Linked DNA regions of Homo sapiens: region 1 is linked to region 2. Evidence: promoter capture Hi-C in 16 types of primary human blood cells and fetal thymus (Javierre and others, 2016). All regions are on one chromosome and are shown on one strand. The core of a region is centred on a gene start or on the middle of the fragment in contact, and the rest is flanking DNA. Distances in the headings are between cores, read along the strand shown.

Evidence for each region. The method cuts DNA at HindIII sites, captures the fragments that hold promoters and counts their contacts. A CHiCAGO score of 5 or more calls a contact.
Region 1: a fragment that was not itself captured here is called in contact with the fragment with the promoter of CCDC150 in region 2 in 1 of 17 cell types (non-activated CD4 T cells); the score reaches 6.6 in non-activated CD4 T cells.

What each region holds. Positions count from the first base shown.
Region 1 is chr2:199,463,867-199,471,105 of GRCh38, forward strand. SATB2-AS1 (SATB2 antisense RNA 1) reads left to right here and starts at 4,232. Exons shown (of 2, transcript NR_026830.1): 1 at 4,232-4,395; 2 at 5,741-7,239. It also overlaps a transcript of SATB2 not described here. The HindIII fragment of the contact is 8,458 bases long and covers 1-6,786 here.
Region 2 is chr2:196,638,011-196,644,973 of GRCh38, forward strand. It overlaps CCDC150 (coiled-coil domain containing 150), which reads left to right and starts at 1,705. Exons shown (of 28, transcript NM_001080539.2): 1 at 1,705-1,768. The coding sequence starts at 1,757. It overlaps LOC105373823 (a long non-coding RNA gene), which reads right to left and starts at 1,675. Exons shown (of 2, transcript XR_923747.3): 1 at 1,386-1,675; 2 at 418-557. RefSeq lists enhancers at 1,217-1,436, 1,457-1,506, 1,491-2,028, 2,029-2,566. The HindIII fragment of the contact is 4,677 bases long and covers 498-5,174 here.

The DNA.
Region 1 (7,239 bases), core at 1,308-3,807, 2.8 Mb after region 2:
CCACCCCTCGTAGGGGCAGGCAAGCTCAGGCAGCCGGGTGCAAGGGGGCCCAAACCGCAGTTGCCTCCCGAACGCTTTGAGGCTATGGGCCCACGCCGGTCTTGAACCAAGCGGAGAGGGCGAAAAAGCCCGCTGCGGGACCCACGGTCCCAGACACCTACTGGAGCCAGGGACGAGGGGGGCAGTGTATCCGGCGGCCCAAACTCGTAAGGAGTGGGGGCCAACTTAGAGGGCTTCCCGAGCTGGCGCCTCGCCTGTTTTCTCGGTATCACGAATCCCCTCGGACACCGTTTCAGTCCGTCAAGACCTTGGCCTCCGGGAAAGGCCCAAGTGACTGTGACGGCGGCGACTCGGGCTCAGTTCTCCCCCACCCCGTGGTGCCTTCCCTCCCCGCCCTACAGCCAAGCCCAGAGGAACAGGGCATCGCCTCGCGCGGTCCCGGAGCCACATCCGGACTTGGGAACCCCGTGTCGGGCTTAGAGGACTTCACTGGGCGGGTTGGGGTTTATTTTCAATAAATTCAGCTGTTCACATACACCCCCACCACCATTTCCACGCGCGCGCGCGCACACACACACACACACACACAGAGGGACTTGTCAACTATTGAGACAGCGACCCAGAAAGGTGTAAATTCACCTGGTGCCCACCCAATTGCAAAGCTCCCAGACCCACACAAAACACTAGCGAGCCCTGGAGGTCTGAGACGCCCCGCGCCCGACTCACGGCGCGAACACCAGCGCTCCGGCCGGGTCGCAGGGGCCGGTGCCCAGCGGGCCGGGGTCTGGCGAGCCAGGCAGCGGGCCGGCTGAGCTCCTGCGCCCCGCGGTCGCGTGGCCTACTCGCCTACTCCCTTATTATTGGCTGGGACCTGTTCCTTTCCAAAGTGTGATGCCCGGTGTCCTACCCTAGGCCACGCGGAGCTCTCTCCCGGCGTGTCGGGCCCTGCGCCCCTGCCCAGTGGCTCACCTCGGCTCGCTGCGCCCGCCTTCGCCCCAAGTGCCCAGGACGGAGCGAGGGGCTGTGGGTCGGCGCAGGGACGCTGGCTGCTCACCTCCAGGAGCCGACAGAAGGTGCCTTCGGCGTCACGCGTCCAACCCTGGGGCTGATTTAAATAACTAATAAGCTCAGAGAAATTTTACGAGGGGAACTTTTCCTTTTAGTATCAATAAAGCCTAGTAATTGGGTTTGTTGGTTACCTAAGCTCGAGTTCGACTTTCTCAGTCTCTCTCTCTCTCTCTCTTTCTCATTCAGAGGCAACGTTTTCAAAAACCGGCAATTGCGTGTGCGTTTGGGGTGTGCAAGTGTGAGTGTAGATGTGTGAAAGTTATTTGTTTCAGCAGTCCTTGTCTCGAGAGCAATCATCATTGTAGCTTTGAGTGAAGAGTTTTCAAAGGTGAACTGTTGTTATTTCTGTCAACAGAAAACTGTTGACAACCATTCAAGTCTCACAATACAAGTATAATATAAGGGAGGGTGGAATATCTAAAGACTGTCCCGTTGGATATGACAGAAAGACATCTGCAGTGTTTCCCTAATAGTTTGCATTTTAATTAACTTTCATTACATTCTGACTTCCACTCAATATCCGTTGTTTTCAGTAAAGACTTCTATATGATAAAACGTTGTAATTTTTGTTCTGGTTTTCCAATCTTCTTGAAAACCAGTTCTTAATTGTAAGGAATTTTTCCACCTGGGAACCATGCCGTAATTTAAAAATATAAAAGACCTTTCATGAACAATAACTGCAAATAACCCATTTGTTAGTGTCTGCGGAGTTGCTGGCACCTATACAAAGTCTCTGAAATATAAAGGCAATCTAAGAATGTTTCTCTCCAACCATAGTGATATATACTTTTTTCGTTTTTGTTGTGTGGAAGTTAAAAACACTTTTAAAGTTACTTTTTAGAAAAGTGTTGTGCTAAAATTTACCTGAACTTAAATTCCTTATCAATGTTAGCCTAACGAAATGAAGAGTATTTCTGAATCAGATTATTGTTAGAGTCATATGCTAAATAGTAAAGGAAAAGAAATGGGAATTAAAGTTTGCAAACCAAGACCAGGGAAAAGTCGGCTCCAGAAGTTACCAGGAACCCACCCAAACCTGTGCACTCATATCTCCTGTATTTACATATTATAGACAACTTTTCCTTTCCACTTTTAGCTAGAAAAGTGGTGGGCTCCCCTTAGTTCGTCTCGTTTTATGCTGTAAGACCCAAAGTCTGCTGAGGGCTGCCCCTGCCAGGTAACTTCCGGAGACCCGGAGTTACTTGGAGACAGACCCGGCCCTTTGCACATTCCAAGTGAAGGACGTCTCGCGCATTCTTCCCAGAGCTACCACACACCTAACCTCTTCTGGACACCCAACAGCTGGGGCACTGGAGCACCTGACCCTACTCAAGATCATCCCCCAGCCCTTGCCGGCACTTAGGGACAGCAGAATCTGAGCTGTGGGTGTACATACTCCCCATTTTCTGCTTTCCCAGAGGATCACAGACAACTTTTCTTCCCATCTGCTCCCGCTGGACTCCTATGATCACCCATCATCCCCAGTTGTTGCTATCTCTGAGCTCTTGGTGACCAGCCCTTGTCCCCCAAGCTGACCAAGTTGAGAGAGTACTTGTCCTCCCAGCACTGTCTCTCAGTATCAGGAAGTTGAGATCAGTGGCAGGGAAAGATGGAAGGATTGGCAAGGAAAGTGCAGGGCCAAGTAGAGTAGCTCAGAGCCTCAGCAATGGGCACCTGTCCTCCCCCAAACAACCTGTGGTCTCTCCGGCTCCCTGCTTTTCCACCATTGGTCCCATCCTGGGCTACCAGCCTCCACTGAGCTGCTCTGGGAACTTAGGGTGTCTCACATTACTTCCCTGCTATGGCATATTTTGGTTTCAGTTGAGCTATTTTCTGAAGATGTGGATACTCCAGTTTTATTCTTTTTCTGTCTGTGTCTCAGTACTCTTTTCCTTTTTTAAGAATGTTCCCCAAGCCTGGCTTTTGCCAGACCCTGTGCCATCTCCCCAAGCTCTATTTACAAGAACAAGAAGTGATTTGTCTGTTTATAGCAGGTTTAATTAAGACAGTTATGCGCCGTGAACTCTTTGGGCCTCAATCAATGCACTTAGATTTGGAAACTCAGATAGAATCACATCTTACACGTGCGGCCCCGGCTGGCCGCCCAGGCTGAGGACAGAGCTATTGTTTTCTACATCAGCCTCACTGGAACTGGGCAAGTCCCCTGCAGAACTGGCACCCCCTGCTCCTCCCAAGAGACCTCAAGTCAGGTCTCCCGGCCAGACTCAGGCCTTTCTAATACAGGCGTGAAGGGCGGGACGCCCAGAGCCCTCTTGTTGGCCGGTGGCTAAGGAGCCAGGTGGATAACTTCTGCGGATTCGGCTTTCAGGCTGCTGGAGCTCTCCCCAGCCCGAGGCCTTAGCCCAGCGCAATCCCTTGTCCAGACCGGCCAGTTTCCGCGTGGCGAAAAAGGGGGAGGCAAGTGTGTCTTTTCCAAGGAGCTTTTATCCAACAGCCTCCCCTCCCCCCAACTCTCAGCCTTAGGTGCCGGGCTTCAGCCGAAGCGTTTTTCAAATTTGTCATCATTGGAAACCTCGGACAAGTGGAGTGTAAAATTTTGAGGGTTTCCAGGTAGGCTCTGACTTCAGGCATTCAATGAAAGGGGAAGAGGGCTGAGGGCGGGGGAGAGAGACAAGCACAGAGGGCTCCCTGTAGTCGGCAGGAATTCCCTCCCTCTGCAGCCCAGCTGCACCCACTAGCACACACTAGTCTTGCCTTCTCCCGGCTTTGGAAGAATCCCCACCACATTCTTTAGCTCTCAGAAAGGAGAGGGCAGTCAGGTCAAGGTCTTTCAGCATCCCTACCGCAATATACCCCTCCCAGCCCCCTCACCACCACCACGTTGGCCTAGGACACAGGACCCCGGGGCCAGGGCCTCAGTGACTGCAGCTTATGCCACCTAATGCAGAATGGGGTGTCCCTGCCTCCACTGCTCCTCTCGGTCTCAGCATCCAGGTCCTGAAACCCCTGCGATTCTGGCCTGGGAAGCCAGACTTGCCACCAACATCATGGTATCACCCATAATTGATCCACTCAGTTTTCAGTAGATGTGGAATCCAACAAGAGTAACACCACCCTCCACGCCCCACTCTTTTTTCTTTCTTTCTTTCTTTCTTTTTCTTTCTCTCTCTCTCTCTCTTTTTTTTTTTTAAGAATCCAAGGCACTTGAAACATTCTGAGTGTGCCTGCAGTAGGGTCTCAGAGGAGTTGCTCTGAAAGCTGTTGAGAGCAGCCACCTTTGCTGTCACTGAGAGCTTGGCAGGGTCAGCTCTGGTGGGCCGTTTGCACCCAGGCTCTGATGGCACCAGGATGGCTTCCTGCAACCCGGTAGGAGGACTGGGGTGGGTGGGTCCAGTATTTCGTTTCTTCCTCTTCCTTTTTTTTTTTTTAATGTCCCTCTTTATTTCTATTGAAGACTAACCTCAGTATCAAAGGGTGCACTTGTTTGTCCTAAATGGCTTGTAGCTCTTTCCTACTCTGCCACAGGACATTAGCTCTGGGAGCACCGCCTGGCAGGGCCTTCGCTTTGGGCCTAAGCATCCAACTGAGGCCCAGCAATTCCACCTGTGGGGAATCTTGCAGTGAGGTATTTGTGCATCAGGAGTGGGGAGTGAGGGAGAGAGAGCTGGGCTGGTGCAGTATCCACTCTCGCACCTCCTCCCTGAGCGGAGCTCCAGTATAGACTAAGTGAATGAATCCATGAATCAGCTCCATAGCCGAGGGGTAGAAGAAGCAGCCGTCTTCGTTAAATGGGCTGTTGGCAGTTGCGGCTGACTGCTCTACCCCTCGCAGGCCCGCCTCTGGGCAGGCCTGAGGTGGCCCTGGAGCCCCGCCAGCAGCCCCCGCCCCTCAGGCCAAGCTCTGGCCCTGGCAATCTCTGCACTTTGTCATCACGCCCGAGTATTTGACATTCGCAATTATCTGCAAATACCCTGATCAGTTTGTATATGAAACACTTTTTTTCCTGCCTTAAGGTTGGAATCTGGTAAGTTTCAGACAAGTGGTTGCAGGGGGAGATGACCCAGGGGACCGTGCGGGACAGGGCCGGTGAACCCGATTCCGCGAGGCGGGCGTCTCGAAGGGACTGGTCTGCGTGCCTCACCGGGTTCCCCAGCCTGGCTCCGAGGAAAGGCCGCGCGGAGGCGAGAAAGGGCCCACATCTCGAGTCTCCAGTCTCTCCTTGAAAAGAGCACCCCCTAATCCCGGAGGAAGGGAGGGTGAAGGAGGAGGGGAGAGCCCACTACAGGCAAGGCAGGAAGGTTAATCATTTTGTTAACCGGAAAGGGTGCTGCCCCGCCTGGCCGTCGTCACCGAGCGTGTCAGTCACCCGCTCTCGATTTCGCCGCAGAATTACCTGCTCAAAGAGCCACCCCAAGAAGCCCTCAGCTCCGAGGTCTTCCCGCCCGTCGTCTGCGGGAAGTAAACGGCGTCCTCCCTCCAAAGAAGTGGATGCCCCTTCGACTCTCCTCCGCCCCCCGGCGGTTCCTAAATCTAGGAAAGCCAGCCCCGGCATCGCTCACTACTCCTGCACCTCAGCTCTGGGATACCCGCTCAGTACAGACAGACCATCAACCAAAAAAGAAAAGAAGAAAAGAAAAGTGGTGGTGGGGGTGGGGGTGGGCAGGGAGCGTAAAGTAGCGAGATCACTTATTTGACTCTTCTGTTTTCTTAGGAACCTGATCCTGGCCCCCGGCAGAGCATAAGGGCCCGAGGCCAGGGACCTAGAGGCCGGACCAAGTTCGCGCGAGGTGTTCACAGCCTAGGCGCCCCGGGCTTGGCTTCGTACTCTGCAACAAGCCAAGCTCCCTTGCCACGAGTATATCAGCAACTTCAGAAATAAACACCAGCGAAACCCCTTCCCACATTAGCTTGTTGCTGTGCTACTGACACTGGGCTTAGTCGATGTTCACACCTATTACATTTTTCCGGAAAGTGGGAGGAGCAGGGGGTAGAGAAAGCTGTGTGTATTGAGGGAAGGGGAGATGTGTGCAACACCTTCCAGAAAAATGGGGAGGTAGTTTAGAAAGTTTTTCTCTGTAACAGCACAGCTTCTGAGAAGGCAGAGAGAAGAAAGCAGACAGGAAACGAATCCCTTCCTCCTCTCCCCTTTACCCCCTTCCTTCACTCCCTAGACCAAGCTGGTCACCCGGCTGGGAATCAAGATTGTGTGGCTGGGAAGACACCAGTCTCTGTGCTCGGGTTCAGCCCAGTCGGGCAAGAAAGTCTGGGCAGCTGGAGAAGGTCGTCACAGTCTCCCGTGGAATCTTGTTGCCTGAGAGCCCCATAACGGAAAGGGCTAAGACGACTCTTCCACACACAGGTCGCAGCCCCTGCCGCGGAGGATCCCCAGGAAGATGCTGGGGACGCTCTGAGCATCGGCCTTTCTTTACCCCCGACTCCCTGGAGCTTGGTCTCGGGATGCCAACTTGGGGCACGGAGGCGACGGGCTGCTCCGAAGCTGGAGGGTTTCTGCTTGGGTCAGAGGGATCACGACCTCAGCAGAGCCAGGAGAGGTTGGGTGACACCCACTGCGTATTGCACTTGACTCAAAACTGCCCTCGGCCTGCGGAAGAGGCGAGGGCAAGAAGCCTGGTGGCGGGTCAAACCTTCACCCTATTATTTTCTATCATTTTTTATGCCCATATATTTGTTAAATGTATGGCTGCTATACACCAACAGCTTATTCTACAAGAAGTGCCCCCGAGGAGGATTGGGTTAAGCTTTGCAAATTTGGCTTCCCAGGTAATGCGCTTCATTATTCTGCTCCCGACTTACCCACCACACCAGTGGGTACCCGGAGCAGCACCCACTTGGCAGAACTGATGACTGCTTGGGCCCAGCGGAGTGCGCATTGCGCTAACACGCGCACGGGAATTGCACCCTTGCCGGAGCCTCCGCACCGTGCGCCCTTCAAAGAGCTGGCGACCCCGCTCACGTGTAAGCAACCTCCCACTTTGAAACTAATTCGCACCCGGGTCTTTCACCCCAAAGGACTTTGCTGCGGACGCTGCTCTGACCCAAGACGCGGGAGAGAAGTCCCAAAGGCTACAGCCAGGGGCTGGGGGACTCCTCTGCTCACCTTAGTCCTTGATTTCGAAGGCCCCAATTAACTATCTGTTGTGTCAGAATCGGCGAGTGCAAAGTAGCTGCGCCCCGCTGACGCGCTCTCTC
Region 2 (6,963 bases), core at 455-2,954:
CAACAAGTTGATTCAAAAAATTTGGGAGAAAGGTAAAGGAACTAGAAAGTTAAAGGAACAGCCAAAACAAATTTGAAAAAGGACAAAGTTGGAGGACTATACTCCCTGATTTCAAGTTTATTGAAGACTTCAGGTCCTTTTCTCTAACTCTGTAATTGCTTAAGTTCTTATACGGTTTGCCAGACAGTGAATAAGGGAAAACAAATGAAAAACACGAATTTAATCAGTTTGGTTCCCTGACTGCTGCTTAATATGGAGATTTGAGGAGAAGGTGAAAACTCTCATTACACAAAAACACGTGGATACATGTATCACTCATCTCTTAATTCCACTGATAAACCAGAGGTCATTGCAAGATAAAACATACATAATGAAAATAATTGGCTGTTTGCACTGACGCTTTAAAATACATTTTCATTTCCTATTAAAAGCTTTATTTGGTCCCTTTCTCTGAATAATGTATGCAGTGCTCATTTCTCTTCACCGGATCGGCTCAAAGCTTGATGAATATGGCTGTGGTTTGATGGGCAGTCTCTGCATCTCACATTGAGGCTCCGCTATGAAAAGAATTAGAATAGCAAGATCAATTGTCAGGCTAAGTAAATGAGCTCTCATCTCGGATCTGATTGCTTATATGAGAGGGCTGAAGTGATTCTTGGCTGCACTCTCAGGGAGAAGAGAGAAATGCATTTTAATTGCCCTGGCAGGGATAACAGGTGTTCTGTCCAGCTACCAAAACGCAAAGCCGCGTCTTTGCACTATAGAAGGCTTTCCCTTAAGTGAGAATACATATTCTTAAAGCAAAACAACTCAGAAACGCTGGTGTGGTGATGCACGCCTGTAATCCCAGGACTTTGGGAGGCCGAGGTGGGCGGATGGCTCGAGCCCAAAGAGACCAGCCTGAGCAATATGGTGATGACCCCGCCTCCACGAAAAAATACAAAAATTAGCCAGACGTGGTGGCGCGCGCCTGTGGTCCCAGATACTGGGGAGGCTGAGATGGGAGGATCGCTTGAGCTCGGGAGGTCGAGGCTGCAGTGAGTCGAGATCGCACCACCGTAATCCACCCTTGGCGACAGAGGAAGACCCTATCTCAAAAAAGCAAACCACCAAAAAAACCAGGGACAGCTCAATGCTCTTTTCCGTTTCATAGCTACTTACACTCAGATTTACAAATACCTATTAACTTGTAGACAGGGCAAGAAATAATTTATGCTGAAGAGACGAAAGACCTGAAAACAGATTTCTGTGTTTTACTCTCCATGTGGCCATCATGGACGAGGACGAAGAGGGACTTGATTTTTCCTTTAACGAGAAGAATGTTTAAGCTCTGAATTTTTAACCAATTTTTATGCTCGTTACTCTGCTGTAGGGTATGTATTTACCAAGATTAGCAGAACACCGCGAGTTCACCAGGCGGAGACAAGTCACTGTGAAGTGGGCAGCACAGGACCCCCCGGAGGGCAGGCGCCGGAAACTACATATCCCGGCGTGCCCCGCTCGCGAGCACAGTGGAGCCTGCCGCCATTCGGTTCACGGCGCTACGCATTCCCTGAGCGCCGCCGGATGCCGGCCTGGGTCCCGCCCAGGGCTGAGGGCCCTCCTGGGCCGGGAAAACTACAGTTCCCGACATGCCCTGCCACGGGTGCGCCTGCGTACCGGAGCTACTGCGCCGGGGAGCGGGTTGGTTTAAAATGCTGTGTTAGTTCCACGGAAACCCGCTCGCCTGCTGCAGTACGGAGCCTCAGGCGGACAGATGGACTGTAAGGTGAGGCTGCCGGGCCCCGGGCTGGTGAGGGGTGGTCGGAGGCTCGCGAGGCTTCGGCTCAGATAAGGACAGTCACCACTCCCTGGCGCCCTCTCCCTGTCCTGACGGAGTCCAGTCTCACTCCCTGGACCTCAGGGCCCTGATTTAAGGCGCTTTGGCGTTGGCTGCCGGTGAAAGCCATTTAGGAGCGAAGTTTGCATTGGCCTGGCTCCAGCTGAGGGATGGGAGATAGCCACCGAAGCCTCCAGATAAGCCCAATACCACCTTTATTTATGTGTTAAGTTGGAGTTTAATAGGTTCCTGGGAAGGCTATTTCGGCGTTAATGTTTGATTTTTGCCACCAGTTAATCCTCCCTGGCTTGCTTACCAGAATATAGGTGTCAGGAATTTGCACTTGTTCTTTACGGTTTCCGCAGTACCTGGCGCTCTTGCTAGAACGGAATAGACATTCGTTAAATTCCTGTCGAAGTATTCTCCTGTTTATTTACCACCTATAATTTCCCAGGCACTGTATTAGGCTCTAAAGATAGAAAAATGTCTATTTTTAACCCCACTTTAGAGAAGTTCGTATTAGTCCGTCTTAAATGCCCCCCAACACATGCTTCTAATTTGTTAATCTTGGCGTGCTCAGGACTAGGTCCTTTAATCCTTTGTGTTCTCTGTTATCCCGCCTTATGGTTTTCTTGAGCTCTTCAGAAATTAGTCTCCAGTCCACACCTCACCCCCAAACTTCAGATCCACAAATTCAATAATGTATTTGGTATCTTTCATGTTTTAAATTTGACATTTTAAAAACTACTCTTTATCTTTTCCACAAAACGGATTCTTCCTTAATAAGTTTGCATTGTCTCAGTGATAGCACCATCCAGGCCAAAAACCCTGTAGTAATCTTGGCTTCTTCCTTTCCCTCATATCTCATATCTAATGCATCAGCAAAAGCTATCTTTCAAGTATATCTAACCACTAACCACTTCTTACAGTAGGAATACCGCTGCTGTCACCTTGGTTCTGGCCAGCAGCATCTCTACTTCTGCTTTTGTTCTTCCACCATTTGGAGTGGGAGGGAGTCAAAATGATCCAGTTAAAAGGAAAGTTGGATAGCATTCCTCAGCTATAGACCTCCAGTGACTCTGAGAATCACTGACAGCAAAAGCCAGACTTCTACAATGGCCTTCAAGGCTCTGTGTATTCTGTTTTTTGTTTTTTTGAAACGGAGTCTCGCTCTGTCGCCCAGGCTGGAGTGCAGCAGTCTCAGCTCACTGCAAGCTCCGCCTCCTGGGTTCACACCATTCTCCTGCCTCAGCCATCCGAGTAGCTGAAACTACAGGAGCACGCCACCACGCCCGGCTAATTTTTTTTTTATTTTTATTTTTGTATTTTTAGTGAGACGGGGTTTCGCCGTGTTAGCCAGGATGGTCTCGATCTCCTGACCTCTTGATCTGCCCGCCTCGGCCTTCCAAAGTGCTGGGATTACAGGCGTGAGCCACCGCGCCCAGCCGTATTCTGGTTTTATTATTACCGTCTGACCTCATCTCTCAATGTTCTCTGTGTTACTCCTTCCTCTCCAGCCAAACCCACCTCTTTATTATGTGCGGACTCATCAGACCTTCTAACTTCAGGCCTTTGCACTTGCTGTTTCCGTCTTCTGGGCCTTTCTGCCCTCTGATATCTATATAACAGGTCTTTGCTCAAATGTTATGAGGCCTTCTTTGACCACCCTGTTTAAAATGAAAATCTGCCCTGTAGCCTCCATACCATGTTCTTTCCTATTTCATTTTCCTCCTTTGCACTTATCACCAATAAACAAACTATGTATTTTACTTAGTGTCTGTCTTCTTCAGCTGGAATATAAGCTCCACGAAGGCAGGGAGTTTTGTTCGTACTGTTCTACCCAACCCCTGCCCCCCGCCTCATTGCCTATAACAGTGTGTGGCTCATGGTAAATGTTCAGGAAATATTTGTTAGATGTGTGAGTGAATGAAGACAGTGTTACCATATTATTTTCTAGTGGTTGTGATAAACAACATTGACTCCCTGGACTGTTATTTTGGAACCAACAGCATGTACTTGTATACGCTTTTGCCAGTGTACACCTATTGCCAGGTGTAGGAATGGAGCCTGTGTCCACAGAAGCATGTGTTCTCTTTTCAAAGTCATCTGGTTTTTACTAGTATATTACTTGTGACATTGGTCTTTTTCTTGCCATGCTTTCCATAAGGTTACCTGCCTAGAAGCTCTTTGGAAATATTCTCCCTAAACATCAAGACAGAATTCTGTTAGTTTGATAATAATATATGCATAGAAATTAGTTATGAATGAACTTTTTTAAAAATAAAAGTTTATATCTCAGTATTTTTATTATTGTTACTATCAAGCGTTAGGACTTAGGTTCAAGGCAGCAATCAATATTTGCTCCTTTTCAAACACAACAAAGCACAGATATGTTAAAGCTGTTGTCTCTTTGCTAGAATGTCAGCCATTAGAGGTAGATTGTTTTCATGTAAGACTGTGCTTCTTAGACTATGAGCCATAGAACTATGACTTATGAGGATCTGCCAAGTGGCCATTGGAGAGTGTGCGTGTATTTATGTATGTAGGGGTGTGGGTGGCATTTCTGCTACCACTGCTTTGGGCCTACCAGATGGGGAGGACAGGCAAGGGTATGAGCAACTGCAGTGAAAATGAGAATCTCTCTCTAACTTTAAGCCCCAACTTGGTAGATTAATTTACTGGATTGAAAGTTCTTATCTCATACTTTAACAGCCTCCCAGATACTCGGGGACTCTGCCTGGTGGCTTTAAGGCTGTCCTCTTGCTACTCAGCCATTACCGCCCCCTCCCTTGCTTCCAAGGACTCTCCTGACCTTGGCATTGTTTGGTTTTTGTTTTTGTTTTCCCATGGCGGGAAGTGGAGGTGGTGGTTGGGAGGGAAGGTTTTTAACTAACCCTGAGACTTGTTTTCATTTTTTATTTTTTTTTAGAGACAAGGTCTTGCTTTGTCACCCAGGCTGGGGTGCAGTGGCACAATCATAGCTCACTGCAGCCTCTACCTCCTGGGCTCAAGTGATCCTCCTGCGTCAGCCTCCCAAGTAGCTAGGGCTACAGGCACAGGCCACCATGCCCAGCTCATTTTTAAAAATTTTTGGAAGAGAATAGGGTCCTGCCATGTGGGCCAGGCTGGTCTGGAACTCCTGGCCTCAAGTGATCCTCCCACATAGGCCTTTCAAAAATGCTGGGACTACAGGCATGAGCCACTGTGCCTGGCCATGAGATCTGTTTTTAGTAAATCCCCAAAGGCTAGATTGGCTTATTTAATTTTTGTTTCAGCAACTTTGATGACCTGAACAGGATTCTCAGCGATTGACTAAGAGGATATTTTAAGGACAACACCATGTATTTCACTCAAAAGCTTTGTGCCCTGCCAACCATCAATCAGTGTCCGAGTCACCTCAATCTCCCCCTTCTTAGGGTGAATTTTCTATAAACCTCCTTCCCCTCAGAGGCTGGGCCAAGTTGGTTGCTCCTTTTTGAAAGTATATTTTCTCTATGGAAGCCTGAGAAGCTTCAGTGTAGAGCAGGGTCGGGTGGCACTCAGTGTGGATGCAAACCAAATTCCTACCGCGACATGTTGGACCTTCTTTTTTTTAAAACAAGTGAAGCAATTTAAATGATTTGCTGTTTTGTTTTCATGGCTGAATGTACACATGTCCTGGAGAGCCAATGTAAGCATTTAATACAGATCATAGGTTCCTTAGGGAAATATCAACAAAACTAAACATTTGAACAATTACATGAAAAAATTTTAGTTGGGAATCTGCATCCTATTCAAAATATGTGGGGGAGCTTCTCCATTTCCATTTTTTTCCAAAGACAGACTTTTGCAATATGAGTATTAGTATTATGTGCTTGGCTTCTGATATAAATGAACATAGACAAGACTCTATATTATAACCAGCTACCTGGGTCTAATAAATTGCCACAGAAATTGTTCTCCCTTCCCCTCTCCAGCACTGCTTGTCATTTTTACTTCTTCCTTCTACTTGTTTTTCCACCAGCTAATGCCTGGGCCTACTATATGTAGAAGAAAGTGACTAAAACAAACAAAAAAAAGTTTTTTATCTCACATAAGCAGAGTTTGAAGATTACTGGTTTTGCCCAAGTGTCAACATAGTCTGAGGTTCTCTGTCTTTTCCTTGTGTTTATCAGACACTGGTGATCCTTGGCTCTTCGTTTATATTTGAGAGTGAGCTGCTGCATACCTGACTGATGGAACGCTCTGGGAATTGTAAGGGGGTAGGAAAAGACAGGTGCCATCATTACTCTTTTTTTAATCTAGAAAAACAAAAGTCTGCCTAGGAGCCCTTTTGCAAACTTCTGCCCAAAGTCTCTTTGGCCAGAATATATCACATGAGTGTGCCTGCTGAGGCGAGGCTGGGGTCATGAGCTTTTCTGCTTCTTTTGGAGAGAGGACAAAGGAGCTGTGTCTGCGCACACCCTATTAGCCACCCTTTCCCTAGGTTTTCTCCCCATCTTTGGCATGATTTATCTCTAGGTCAGTAGCTGGACAGCAGGTGACAGAAAATAGAATGGAGGTGTTTCTCCATTGTTACCCCTCCATTTTTTCCCCACCCAGTGCTGTTGGTGGCTCCACCAACTGCAGCCCTGGTTTATGGCAGCTGATCCAGCCCGACGGGCTTACTCAGAGGCTCTTTCGTTTACTACTTGAGGAATACTATACTGGCTCATGTGGTAACATTACCAGGAGTCTCCACATCAGTTTTTTTTTTCCCAGAAATGTAGAGGAGCCCCACTTCGAATATTTTGCGTGTCCAGAGACTGCATCAATATCTGCATGTCTTTGTCTTTCCTTCAGGAATGAACTGAAAAAAATGAAAGTTAATTAATAGAAGGGAGCTTCTTTCACCCCATGTCCTTAAGCTGACTTAACAACAAATCTAAAGAATGCAAAAAGCTTGTGTCAAAAAAAGTTTCACAGTAGGGCATGAAAGAAAAATTCTGGTCAGAAACACCATAGTAAGAGTAAAAAGAAAAATAGGCTGGGCGTGATGGCTCATGCCTGTAATGCCAGCACTTTGGGAGACTGAGGCTGGCAGATCACTTGAGGTCAGGAGTTTGAGACCAGCCTGGCCAACATGGTGAAACCCCGTCTCTACTAAAAATACAAAAAAAAAAAAA